Linked DNA regions of Homo sapiens: region 2 is linked to region 1. Evidence: promoter capture Hi-C in human tissues and cell types (Jung and others, 2019). All regions are on one chromosome and are shown on one strand. Each heading gives the region's core, a stretch centred on a gene start or on the middle of the fragment in contact. The rest is flanking DNA. Distances are from core to core; before and after follow the strand shown.

Region 1 (6,583 bases), core at 1,617-4,116:
GCAGCCTCTGAACTGACTCCCTGGCTCATTTTGCCTCCATCAGGGCCTCAAATCCAATTATATGGCTCCCCATTGCCCAAGGCAGAAAGTCCAAGCTCCCAGTCTGGCACCCAAGAAGCTCTGTTCTCACCCCATACACCCCTTTGGGGTTTTTTGTTTCATGTGTTTTGTTTTGCTTTGTTTTGGCTTTTTGTCTTTAGGGGTTTAGATAAGATCTTGCTCTGTCACTCAGGCTAGAGGGCTCACCGCAGCCTCAAGCAATCCTCCCGCTTCAGCCTCAAGCAATCCTCCTGCTTCAGCCTCAAGCAATCCTCCTGCTTCAGCCTCCCGAGAGGCTGAAGACATCACTGTCCCTGGCTAATTTTTTAAATTTTTTGTAGAGACAAGGTTTTTCTATGTTACCCAGGCTGGTCTCGAACTCCTGACCTCATGTGAGGAGAAGCTCCTGACCTCTGAGCTCCTCAAAGACGATGACCAGGTCTGGGGATGGCTCTGCAGCCCCTAGAGTTTCATGATTCCATAGCCACTCTCTGGCATGCTGAGCTGGTAACTGACAGATCGATGCCCAGGTCTCAGAGATGCCTGGCAGCTGCAGGCACCCTCCTGAGCTCCCAGCCCGGCCTGTGCCTCCCCCTTGTCTGGCCGCACCTCTCCGCCTCGCAGGACTGCCATCAACCAGCCTCTATCTCTGCCCCATGAGATGGTCATTCCTGAGTTCAGGAACTCCAAGTCCGATTTCCTCCCTGGGTCCACAGCAGCCAGCAGGGGGTCCTGCCCACAGTTAGTGCTCAGCCGGTCTTGAATGAATGAATGACAAGAAGAGAAGAGCAAGTGGAGCCTCAATCAGCTGTTGTTATTGTTGTTGTCTTTGTTTGAGACGGAGTCTCGCTCTGTCGCCCAGGCTGGAGTGCAGTGGCACGATCTCAGCTCACCGCAACCTCCGCCTCCCGGGTTCAAGCGACTGTCCTGCCTCAGCCTCCCGAGTAGCTGGGATTACAGGCGTGAGCCACCACGCCTGGCCCCTGATCAGTCTTGAATGAATGAATGAGTGAGTGAGTTAGTGAATGAGTGACAGAAGACAGAGCAGGTTGAGCCCTGAAGCCTGCAAGAAGGAAGGCAGGACGTGTGAGGTTTGCGAGCAGCCTGTTGTCCTAGAAACACAGCCAGCAGGAGCTATTCTTGTCTGGCCCAGGCTACCCTGTCCTCCACCTAGAACCTGGGGGCCTCTGCCTGGAAGTCCTGCCTGCTGTCCTCACCCACCCACCCCTCATTATGTCTCTGGCCCCACCCCCACTGTGCCCTCCCTTAATTTTTAAAAAATATTTATTTATTTATTTATTTTTTATTTTTTATTTTTTTTTTTTTGAGACAGAGCCTTGCTCTGTCGCCCAGACTGGAGTGCAATGGTGGGATCTTGGCTCAATGGTGGGATCTCGGCTCACTGCAACATCCACCTCCCAGGTTCAAGCAATTCTCTGCCTCAGCCTCCCCAGTAGCTGAGATTACAGGTGCCCGCTACCATGCTCGGCTAATTTTTGTAGTTTTAGTAGAGACGGGGTTTCACCATGTTGCCCAGGCTGGTCACAAAGTCCTCACTTCAAGTGATCCGCCCACCTTGGCCTCCCACAGTGCTGGGATTACAGGCCTGAGCCACCGCACCCAGCCCTAAAATATTTTTAATTTTTTAAATAGAGACAGAGTTTCGGCTGGGCGCAGGGGCTCATGCCTATAATCCCAACACTTTGGGAGGCCGAGGCAGGCGGATCACCTGAGGTCTGGAGTTCGAGACAGCCTGGCATACACGGCAAAACCCCGTCTCTACTAAAAATACAAAAACTAGCCTGGCATGGTGGTATGCGCCTGTAGTCCCAGCTACTCGGGAGGCTGAGATAGGAATCGCTTGAACCTGGGAGGCAGAAGTTGCAGTGAGCCGAGATCGCGCCACTGCACTCCAGCCTGGGCAACAGATTGAGACTCTGTCTCAAGAAAAAAAAAAAAGGCCGGGCACGGTGGCTCATGCCTGTAATCCCAGCACTTTGGGAGGCCGAGGCGGGTGGATCACCTGAGGTCAGGAGTTCGAGACCAGCCTGACTAGCATGGTAAAACCCCGTCCCTACTCCTCCTCTACTCAAAATACAAAAATTAGCCGGATGTGGTGGTGCACGCCTGTAATCCCAGCTACTCGGGAGGCTGAGGCAGGAGAATCACTTGAACCTGGGAGACAGAGGTTGCAGTGAGCTGAGATTGCGCCACTACACTCCAGCCTGGGCGACAGAGCGAGACTCTGTCTCAAAAAAAAAAATAAATAAATAGAGACAGAGTCTCACTATGTTGTCCAGGTTGGTCTCAAACTCCTGGGCTCAAGCAATCTTCCTGCCTCAGCCTCCCAAAGTGCTGGAATTACAAGCGGGAGCCACCATGCCCAGCCTGTGTCCCTTCTTAGTTGAGGCTGGATTGGGAACATCAGTTGGTCCTCCCCGATTCGAGCACAGCTGAAAACCACCTCTAGAGGTGAGAACACCAGAGATGGGCCCAGGAGCAGAAAGATGGGTGATGGCTGGAAGGCCACCATGGATCTGCAGCCCCTGGCTGGTGGGCACAGCAGCAGGTACTGCCCAGGGTAGCCATCCCCTCCTCACCTGCAATGATGAACCAGTTCATGTAATTCAGGAGGTTGATGTAGCAGAGGACGGCGGCAGCCACGTAGGCCCTCCACGGGGGCAGGCTCCAGGAGGTGGGCGTGATGGGAGGGGGACACTGCCTGCCTGGCCCTGGGGACTGGCCCTGCAGACCTCCTGGCCCAGGCTCAGGGCACTCCGCTGACATCCCCCCAGCCATGCCAGCCTGCAGCTCTTGGCCTGAGACTGGCGCCAGGATGAAGCAACATTAGCTCAGCACGAAGTCACTTCCTGTGGGGTCCCAGGCTCCAAACCTCAAAGCACCTGCCCTAACTGTTGGGCGTCTTATCGCAGGTTCCTCCTGACCCCACGGCAGCTTCACCAGTGCGATTTCCCCATCGTCAGCCTCTGAGACCTGCTACGGAGGACAAGGGCTCCTGGCACCCCCACCCTGGGGACTGGACAACTCTGTGGTCCCCTTGATCTAGCCTGCAGCTTCAGTGGCTGCAGTGAGGAAGGGAAGCTTCCAGGGCAGGAAATGAGATGAGCCTCCCAGAGTGCTGCTTGCTGTGAGATGGTCTAGCTGCCCGTACGGGACTGTGAACCAATGCCTTGAAGCCGGGGCAAATGAGGAAGGCTGGGCATTGGCCAGGACAGCAGCATTGCACTCGACTGCCAGGCAGGATGAGCACCTACCCAGGATCTAAGGTCCTTCCCGGAAAAACAAAGGTAGCAGAGGGGGCTGCCTACAAGAAGACAGCCTGTGTGCAAAACTCATCAGTGGGGGCTAAATCTGGGGGGAAGACTTCAGTGAGGGGGGAGGGTGTCAGCACGGTCACGAAGCATCTCTTGATAGATTGCTTATTAGTAACAAAAGGAAAAAGAGTAACTATACAGTAGAGGAATCAGACATCTTGACCAAGGGGTTAAAATAAATCACCTGTGAGAGGCAGGAGGGTGTCGTGTGCCTCCAGATGTGAAGGTCTTCGCAGGTCACAGCATCATCTATGTGGCATTCCAGCCAGGAAGGCACAACCGGAATCTCATCATGAGAAGACATCAGCCAGACGCGGTGGCTCGCACCTGTAATCCTAACACTGGGAGGCCAAGACAGGAGGATCATCCAAGCCCAGAAGTTTGTGACCAGCCTGGGCAACATGGTGAAACCCCATTGCTACAAAAATACCAAAAAAATAAAAAATTTTAAAAAAAAATAGCCGGGTGTAGTGGTGTGCGTCCACAGTCCCAGCTACTTGGGAGGCTGAGGTAGGAAGGATCGCCTTAGCCTGGGAAGTCGAGGCTGCAGTGAGCCATGTTCGTGCCACTGCACTCCAGGCTGGGTGACAAAGCAAGACCCCAACTCAAAAAAAAAAATTTTTTTTTTAATTTTTAAAATGAAAAAACATCAGACAAGCCCAAATTGAGAAACACTATTTCTTTAAAGGGACTGTATATTGAAAAATGTCAGAGTCATGAAAGACTAAGAAAGACTGAGGGAGCTAGGCGTGGTGGCTCACGCTTGTTATCCCAGCACTTTGGGAGGCCGAGGCAGGTGGATCACCTGAGGTCGGGAGTTCAAGATCAGCCTGACCAATGTGGAGAAACCCCGTCTCTACTAAAAATACAAAACTAACTAGGCATGGTGGCAGGTGCCTGTAATCTCAGCTACTCGGGAGGCTGAGGCAGGAGAATTGCTTGAACCCGGGAGGCACAGGTTGTGGTGAGCCAAGATCACGCCATTACACTCCAGCCTGGGCAACAAGAGCAAAACTCTGTCTCGAAAAAAAAAAAATATTCTGAGGGACTGTTTTGGATTAAAAGCAACAAAGAGACAAGATAGGCCAGGCGCGGTGGCTCATGCCTGTAATCCCAGCACTTTGGGAGGCCCAGGCGGGCGGATCACGAGGTCAGGAGTTCGAGACCAGTCTGGCCAACATAGTGAAACCCTGTCTCTACTAAAAATACACAAAAAAGTAGCTGGGTGTGGTGGTGTGCACCTGTAGTCCCAGCTACTCAGGAGGCTGAGGCAGGAGAATCATGTGAACCCGGGAGGCAGAGGTTGCAGTGAGCCAAGATCGTGCCACTGCACTCTAGCCTGGGTGACAGAACAAGACTCCGTCTCAAAAAAAAAAAAAAAAAAAAGAGAGACAAGACAATAAGACAATTAAGAGCAGTACAGGATCCCAACCTCGCTCCTGTACTGGATCAACTGATAAAACTGGATCAGGAAGAAATAGCATATCAGCATCTGTGAACTATGGTTATGTAAGTAAATAAGTAAATATCCTTATCTGAAGTATCTAGAGGTACAGGGCCATGATTTATGCCACTCATTCTCAAACGGTTCAGGAAAAAATATTAGATATGTATAGTAAGAAAACAAATGGGGCAAATATTAATAATAGATGAATCTGGGTAAAGATTATAAGAGTTTCTTTACGCTATATGATAAACTTTCTATAAGTTATAAATTATATCTAAACAAAAAGTTAAAGCATAAAATGACAAACCAATTTAAAAATGGGTGAAGAGCCGGGCATAGTGGCATGGACCTGTAGTCCCAGCTACTCTGGAGGCTGAGGTGGAAGGATCACTTAAGCCTGGGAGGTTGAGGCCACAGTGAGCTATAATCATGCCACTGTACTCCAGCTTGGGCAACAGAGTGAGATCCCATCTCTAAAGAAAAAAAACATCAGGGGGACAAAAATGGGCCAAGGAGTTGAACAGACATTTCTCTGAAGATATACAGGTGACCGACAAGCACATAAAAAGATGTTCAGGCTGGGCACAGTAGCTCACGCCTGCAATCCCAGCACTTTAGGAGGCTCAGGTGGGTGGATCACAAGGTTGGGAGTTCGAGACCAGCCTGGCCAACATAGTGAAACTCCATATCTACTAAAAATACAAAAATTAGCTGGGCGTGGTGGCATGTGTCTGTAATCCCAGCTATTTAGGAGGCTGAGGCAGGAGAACTGCTTGAACCCGGGTGGCAGAGGTTGCGGTGAGCTGAGATCACACCACTGCACTCTAGCCTGGGTGACAGAGCGAGACTTCATCTCGGGGGAAAAAAAAAAAAAGAAAGAAAAATGTTCAACATCACAAGTCATTAGGAAAATGGCAGATTGAAGCCACCATAAGATATCAGTTCGTACCCACTAAGACGGCTATAATTTTAAAAAGAGAGAGAGAGGAAATAACAAATGTTGGTGGAGAGATTGAAAGCCTCATGCATTGCTGGGAATGTGGAGTAAGGCAGCCGCAGTGGAACAAAGTTTGGCAGTTCCTCCAAAGGTTAAACATAAAATTACCATATGGCCCTGCAATTCCAATCCTAGGTATATATCCAAAAGAACTGAAAACAGGCCAGGTACAGTGGCTCACACCTGTAATCCCAGCACTTTGGGAGGCCGAGGCAGGTGGATCACGATGTCAGGAGTTCAAGACCAGCCTGGCGAAGACAGTGAAACCCTGTCTCTACTAAAACTACAAAAAAATTATCCAGGCACGGTGGCAGGCGCCTGTAATCCCAGCTACTCGGGAGGCTGAGGCAGGAGAATCACTTGAACCCAGGTGGCAGAGATTGCAGTGAGCCTACATTGCACCACTGCACTCCAGCCCGGGTGACAGAGTAAGACTCTGTCTCAAAAAAAAAAAAAAAAAAAAAAAGAATTGAAAACAAAGACTATTTTGAGCCTCTAATCTCAGCACTTTGGGAGGCCAAGGCAGACGGATCGCTTGAGGTCAAGAGTTCAAGGCTGGGCGCGGTGGCTCACACCTGTAATCCCAGCACTTTGGGAGGCTGAGGCAGGTAGATCACAAGGTCAGGAGATCGAGACCATCCTGGCTAACACGGTGAAACCCTACCTCTATTAAAAATACAAAAAGTTAGCTGCGCATGGTGGCGGGCGCCTGTAGTCCCAGCTGCTCAGGAGGCTGAGGCATGAGAATGGCATGAACCCAGGAGG
Region 2 (6,583 bases), core at 455-2,954, 270 kb after region 1:
ATTTTCTATTACCTGGAAAGGGCCATAAGGAAGCAGGCAGGGCTTAGGTAGCTTGGTTACCTAAGTTAGAAAGTAAGAGAATCATGATTCGGATATGAATTGAAGTGGTTGGTACATGGATACCTGTTCTTTAAAAGGAATGTGGGAGATGAGTCAAGGGTGAGGCCGATTGTTCTGCCCATGCCCTACCATACCAATTTCAATAACAATCTTGCCTGTCATTGCACTCAGAATCTTAAGATCATGTTTCAAATATGTTGATTCAAACTTGCTTCTAAGCCTGAGTCCAGGGATAGCAATGGTACTGACCAGCTATGGACTGGGAGAACATTGAGTCCTGTTTTCCATTGGCTTCAGGGCGCATCCATGTGGATATAGGAAAAGCCTCTTTCCACAGACTTAGGAAGCCCCCCGACCACGCGGACGCTCGCTGGGCTGCACTCAGCAGGCTGCTTGAGTGGGAGCTGACTCCAACATGCCCTGCCCTGGCTGGGACTAGGCATGCTTCCAGCCCTTCCCGTGCTCTCCCTGCTGTCAACACTTGCGTACAAACCTGCCTAGCTGTTGTAAGTTTTCATCAGTAGCTTAAGTACTAGTAGCAAAAACTTAAATTCATTCAGAAAGTTGCCACTTCTGAATGAGTAGAGCAGGAAAAGTAAACTTTACTGAAACATAATTTGCTGCAACAGTCAACATTGTTATGCTGAATGTGCTCTCAACTGCCCTTTGCTCATCGCCAGATTTATTATCCAGTGTATTCCTAACAGTCTTTTGTTGTCGTTGTTTTTAAAACAAAGGTACGGACCATGTGCTATATATAAATCGAATGGCTTAAACTAATTTGCTATGATCCTCTAACACCGAAATTTCCCATAAACTTAAGTGCCTACACTTAGGACTTTTGAACTTTCAGTCATCTTTTTCGTGGTGTCTCACTGAACGATGTGTTAGAACATGTGTTCCATTTGGAGTTTTGGGCCTGTGCACGGTCAACCCCAATTACCAATTTAGTTGAGGCTGGATTCGATTGCTCAGTTCACCTGCCACGTTCTCTCCAAGGAGTGGGGTCTACGTGACCTTTAGTCCTCTACCTCAGAGCCCCGAGTCATTTCTGACCACCCCGTTCTGTGTCCTCACTCTTGTCCCTGAATGGGTCCCTGTGTGGATCTCAGTGTGTGTGTGGTTTCTCCACTCCTCCCCGCTCATGTCCCACACCTGCCATATTGAACCGTTTCTGCACTAATCTTCTCCACGGGCACGGAGTGGAGGGAACGTCTTGGGAAAGGGGAGAGCTTGACCTCCATCTAGGTTTCTTTTATCTGGAGAAAAAGAACACTTTTGAACTATGTAATGCTTCACCCTGAAAGGCAAGCTAACGCTAACTTCCCAGGTGACAGTAGCAGGAACAAGGAAGGGTAATGTTTCCATGACAGACACTTGCTTCCCTTGGGACAAGTCCCAGAAGAACTACCTGAAGCACCAAAGCTCCCCACCCCAGCCTGGTGGCAGAGGAAGCAGGTGGCACCAACTCACCAAAGGGACTTGGGAGCCACCTTCTCACTCTGTGGAAGTACTTTAGTGAGAGCTGACTGGCAAGATAAAAACCCTGAAATTCCCAGAAGTTACAGATGCCTTAAAGACTTTCTTTGGAAGATCATTGCCTGTACTATTCCTTTTTTGTGTGGCATAAATAATATATTAACCTGTTACAACTGACAACATTGGTTTTCTGCAGCTAGGGAGTCTTGAGTCGAGACTGCTCGCCTTGATGACTTGCTCTTTTTTGGCAGATGTGTGGAGTTGGCTGTTACGACATCCCTGTGTGATCCCAGAGGAGGGGCAGTAGCTGGGCAGAAACTGCAGGCACACATTTGGGTGGATCACCTGGCTTCCAGCCCCTTCGGGGTGGTGCTCAGTGTGGGGTGATGGTATCATAGAGGACCACGGCGCTTATCAGCATTGTTTCTTTGGAGTCTGTGTAATGGAATGTATTTTTCAAATACTGATATTTGCATTTTCTGTAACAATTCCTTATAATAAAATGAAGTAAAATTGTGCATTTAAAGTGGAAACTTTAATAAGACATTTGTAGTTACTTCTAATGCAGAAGTACCAATAAGCATTAAAAACAAATTTTAGAAAACTCCTGACGTGAATAAGTTTCTTGACCAGCTGCCCTCCAGAAAGTTTGAATTCCAACATTTTTCAGGAACATGCTGTTGACAGCAGTAAAAGTAGCTATTTTATGTATGTATTTTTAATTTTTAAAAGTTTCAGTAGGTTTTTGGGGTTCAGGTGGTGTTTGGTTACGTGAGGTTCTTTAGCGGTGATTTCCAGGATTTTGGGGCACCCATCACCCAAGCAGTGTACACTGGACCCTTTTATCCCTCACCCCAACCCTTTCCCCTGAGCCCCCAAAGTCCACTGTATCATTCTTAATGCCTTTACGTCCTCATGGCTTAGCTCCCGAAAAGTAGTTATTTTAAACATACTAGCTGCCTGAACTTACTGTGCCCTTGGCCCAGATTTCAGCTCATAGCACCGAGCGTGATCACTGAGGCAGTCTCAGTCACCGTCACCTGACCCCTCTGAAGTTCTCAAGAGGATCCACTCATGAGGAGCTTTCTGCTGGCCGAGGCGTGAAGGGCGACTGGCACTGTGGGTTTCAGAGAATGCTAAGGACAGTTTCAGGCCTTGCAAATTAAAACCTAGTGATCCATAAAGCCCCTGTACAAATCACTACCAATCAAGCAGCTCACGTGGCCCTCACGCTGTCCTGAGCAAATGTATTCCCTTTTTCCTGTCTTCCATTTTGCTTACCCCTAGGTCAGACTAGCTGTGGTGATTGATAGAGCTCATAAAGCTCATTCTCCAGTGGCTTTTCTCCTAGTTAATATGCATGTGAAGTGTTTCCACAGGACAATCCCAAGTAATCCTCACAGCTGCCCTTGAGGCGAACAGTGCTAACCACGCTGTCACTGGTTATGATAAGCGAAGCACAAACAGTAACCAGGCACATCAACTTCCACACGTTTGCCCAGCCAGGGAGAGCACTGGGTTTTAGTTCTGCTTTTTTATTCATGAGCTGAGAGTTCTGGGCGAGTTTCCTAACTTCTTTGCCTCTGTTTCCCTATCTACATAATGGGGGCGGGACTGTAGTCCTTAACTGACAGGGTTGCCTGGAGGAAGGTGATCAGTAATGTGTCCTTCTCATCCAAGTACCCGGATTCTGGTGTGTGCACCGCAGGCTCTTCTGGCAGTATCTGCTGCCACCGGAAGAAATCTGGGGGCTCTGGCAGTAGGAAGTACTCTCAAGGCTAGGGTCCAGCCTAGGGTTGTTGCCCTTCTCTGAGGCACCCACAGACTTCTGAGCAGGCACAGTCCTAACCTCCCCATTGGGGCCAGCTTTCAGAGTACAGCTTTGCCTAGAGCAAAGTGAGTGTGGGGCGGGGCGGGGGTCACGCAGTGGCTCAGCTGTGACCAAAAAACGTCAGACTCTTCACTCTTAGATGTTTATAGAAAACTGTAATCTCAGAATGAAAAGGCAAATGTTGAAACTTCTTTCAAGATGACTTCTTTATTTTTGGGTTTTGTTTGTTTGTTTTGGGAGAGTCTCTCTCTGTCGCCCAGGCTGGAGTGCAGTGGTGTGATCTCGGCTCACTGCAGCCTCCACCTCCCCAGTAGCTAGGACTGCAGATGCGTACCACCACACCCAGCTAATTTTTGTATTTTAGTAGAGATGGGGTTTCACCATGTTGGCCGGGCTGGCCTCCATCGAACTCCTGGCTTCAAGAGATCCGCCCACCTTGGGCTCCCAAAGTGCTGGGATTATAAGCGCCCGGCCTCCTTCACAATGTTGGAGTGGAGTGCAGCTGCAAAGGCTTTGCCTTGACACTGTGCTCACTGGTGTGGCAGAGATCAGACTCGCATCACAAAGCCCAGCTCTGTCACCCGACGGTTGATGTAACTATTAGAAGAGGTGGGGAGATATTTATGCCCCTTTTCTGGGCCATAAAATGGGAACTTCTCAAGGCAGGCATAGAGATTAAATGAGAACAAGGCCTGGCCCAGCATAGTTGCCCAATATGTATGTTTTCTCCTTCCCTTCCTTCTGCCAGCAAGTCTAACTGCATGCTCAGCCTAAGCTGAGCTTATCTGTGGCTTCCATCAGGGCCTTGCCCTTCCTCCCCCATGGTTTTGCCCAGGGCCACCTGTACTGGAGAGGGAAAGGCCAGGCATTTCTCCAGTAATTACCAGCTTCTCATGGCTGAGCCCTTCAGGCCATTAAAATGACAACCTACTCTTGCTGAACCTAATTCTTTGCTGAATCCTTTGCCCTGACATGAGAGATGTGTTACCAGATTAAGTAGGAAGGTAAGTACCATAAGGTAAGTATCAAAAAGGAAATGAATTCTCAACTGAGCAAGGAACAGAGCAGGCTGCTGAAGCCAGCCAAGTCTGTCCTGGAGCCTGCACGCAGGGCTCTTGCATCAGTCAGAGATCAGGTACCCTCTAGGCACGGCCAGAGCCCGCAGCTGGCTGGAATGACTAATGCTCCTTTTTGTTTGTTTGTTTTTTGAAGGATCAGAACATCTTGGGACCTGGCCCTCACACTCTCCCTGCATTCCTACCGCAAGGACAGCCTCTGGCTGCTCTACTGGGTTTATTCCACCATACTATAAGCCCCCTGAGGTCGGAAGCCTTGCTTCCTCGACCACCCAACCCTAACGTGATGCCTGGCACATAGTAGGTTCTTGGTAAGTTATTTGCTGAATGACTAAGGAGGACTAAATCATGGGCAGTAACTAGTTTCCAGTTAGCATGGAGTTGGGGGCTGTTTCTGGTTAATAGAGAAGTCTCAGCACTGAGCTCAGGGACTGCCTAGAACTCAGAAGAAAATCCTAATTTCAGCTCTTCTTTCTGTCTGCTCCTGGTCCTGCCCCAGGGAGGGCAGAGACATACAGAAATATGGAGGAGTGAAAATGGCACCGAATCAGGCATCCAGAGCTTTGAGTTCTAGGCTCAGGTCCATGCTCAGTGACTTAAGTTCTATGTGCCTTTATTGCCTTATCTCCAAAAAGTGCGGTGGCTCACGCCTGTAATCCCAGCACTTTGGGAGGCCGAGGTGGGCAGATTGCTTGAGCCCAGGAGTTGGAGACCAGGCTGGGCAACAAGGTAAAACCCCATCTCTACAAAAATAAAAAACTAGCCGGGCATGCTGGTACGTGCCCATCATCCCAGCTACTCGGGAGGCTGAAGTGGCAGAATCTTTTTGAGCCCGGGAGGTCAAGGCTGCAGTGAGCTATGATCACGCCACTGCACTCCAGCCTGGGCAACAGAGTAAGACCCTGTCTCAAAAAAAGAAACAACTCTGCACGAACTTCCCACACGCTAGGTGCGGTGGATATAGGGGTACAGCGCTGAGTAAAGTGGATTATAGGGGCATGGTGCTGAGTCACGTGGATATAGGGGTGAGGAGCTGAGTCACATGGATATGGGGTAAGGCTCTGAGTCATGTAGATATAGGGGTACAGCGCTGAGTAATGTGGATTATAGGGGTACGGCACTGAGTAAAGTGGATTATAGGGGTACGGAGCTGAGTTGCGTGAATGTAGGGGTACAGCGCTGAGTTGTGGATATAGGGGCACAGAGCCGAGTCGTGGATATCGGGGTATGGAGCCGAGTCGTGGATACAGGGGTACGGCGCTGAGTCATGTGGATACAGGGGTACGGAGCTGAGTCATGTGGATTATAGGGGTACGGAGCTGGGTCGTGGATATAGGGGTACGGAGCTGAGTCATGTGGATTATAGGGGTACGGAGCTGAGTCATGTGGATATAGGGGTACGGAGCTGAGTCGTGGATATAGGGGTACGGCGCTGAGTCATGTGGATTATAGGGGTACAGAGCTGAGTCATGTGGATATAGGGGTACGGCGCTGAGTCATGTGGATATAGGGGTACGGCGCTGAGTCATGTGGATATAGGGGTACGGACAGTCGTGGATTATAGGGGTACAGAGCTCAGTCATGTGGATATAGGGGTACATAGCTGAGTCATGTGGATATAGGGGTACGGAGCTGAGTCATGTGAATATAGGGGTACGGAGCTGAGTTGTGGATATAGGGATATGGAGCTGAGTCGTGGATATAGGGGTACGGAGCTGAGTCATGTGGATATAGGGGTATGGAGCTGAATCACACTGGGGCTCTGTCCTCAGAGTGTCTGAGGTCCAGTGCAAGAGGTTGATAGGAAGTTCATGGTAAGAGCCCACTGTGATATGAGCACAGCCATGGAGCAGGGAAAGTGCGTCTATAGCTCACTGCTGGCCCAACAGTTAATGAAGGCTCCCAAGAGGGGCCTGATTGAGCTGAATATTGAAGCAATACGGGGTGGATTAATTCAACGGAGGAAGAAGCGTCATTCCAGGCAAAAGAAACAGCTTGTGTGAAGGCACTGCAGACATAACGCAGTGAGAGGGAGGCTGGACAGGAGGTGCACATGGGAGGAGATGGGAAAGGTACAGGCCTAAGAGGAGAGAGGCCACAGAAGGGCCTCGTGTGGCACGCAGCAGAGGAGCTGGCA

What was found. The method cuts DNA at HindIII sites, captures the fragments that hold promoters and counts their contacts. A contact is called where the count stands out against the background at its distance.
Region 2: a contact is called between a fragment that was not itself captured here and the fragment with the promoter of SPNS3 in region 1, in 1 of the 25 tissues and cell types used here (H1 embryonic stem cells).

Annotation. Positions count from the first base shown.
Region 1 is chr17:4,430,223-4,436,805 of GRCh38, reverse strand. It overlaps SPNS3 (SPNS lysolipid transporter 3, sphingosine-1-phosphate (putative)), which reads right to left and starts at 2,866. Exons shown (of 12, transcript NM_182538.5): 1 at 2,640-2,866. The coding sequence starts at 2,838. RefSeq lists an enhancer at 2,150-2,804. The HindIII fragment of the contact is 23,733 bases long and covers 1-6,583 here.
Region 2 is chr17:4,159,381-4,165,963 of GRCh38, reverse strand. ANKFY1 (ankyrin repeat and FYVE domain containing 1) reads left to right here. Exons shown (of 25, transcript NM_001330063.2): 25 at 1-2,143. Among named protein-coding and RNA genes, the nearest start is that of CYB5D2, 19 kb to the right of the region's middle. The HindIII fragment of the contact is 4,737 bases long and covers 1-4,072 here.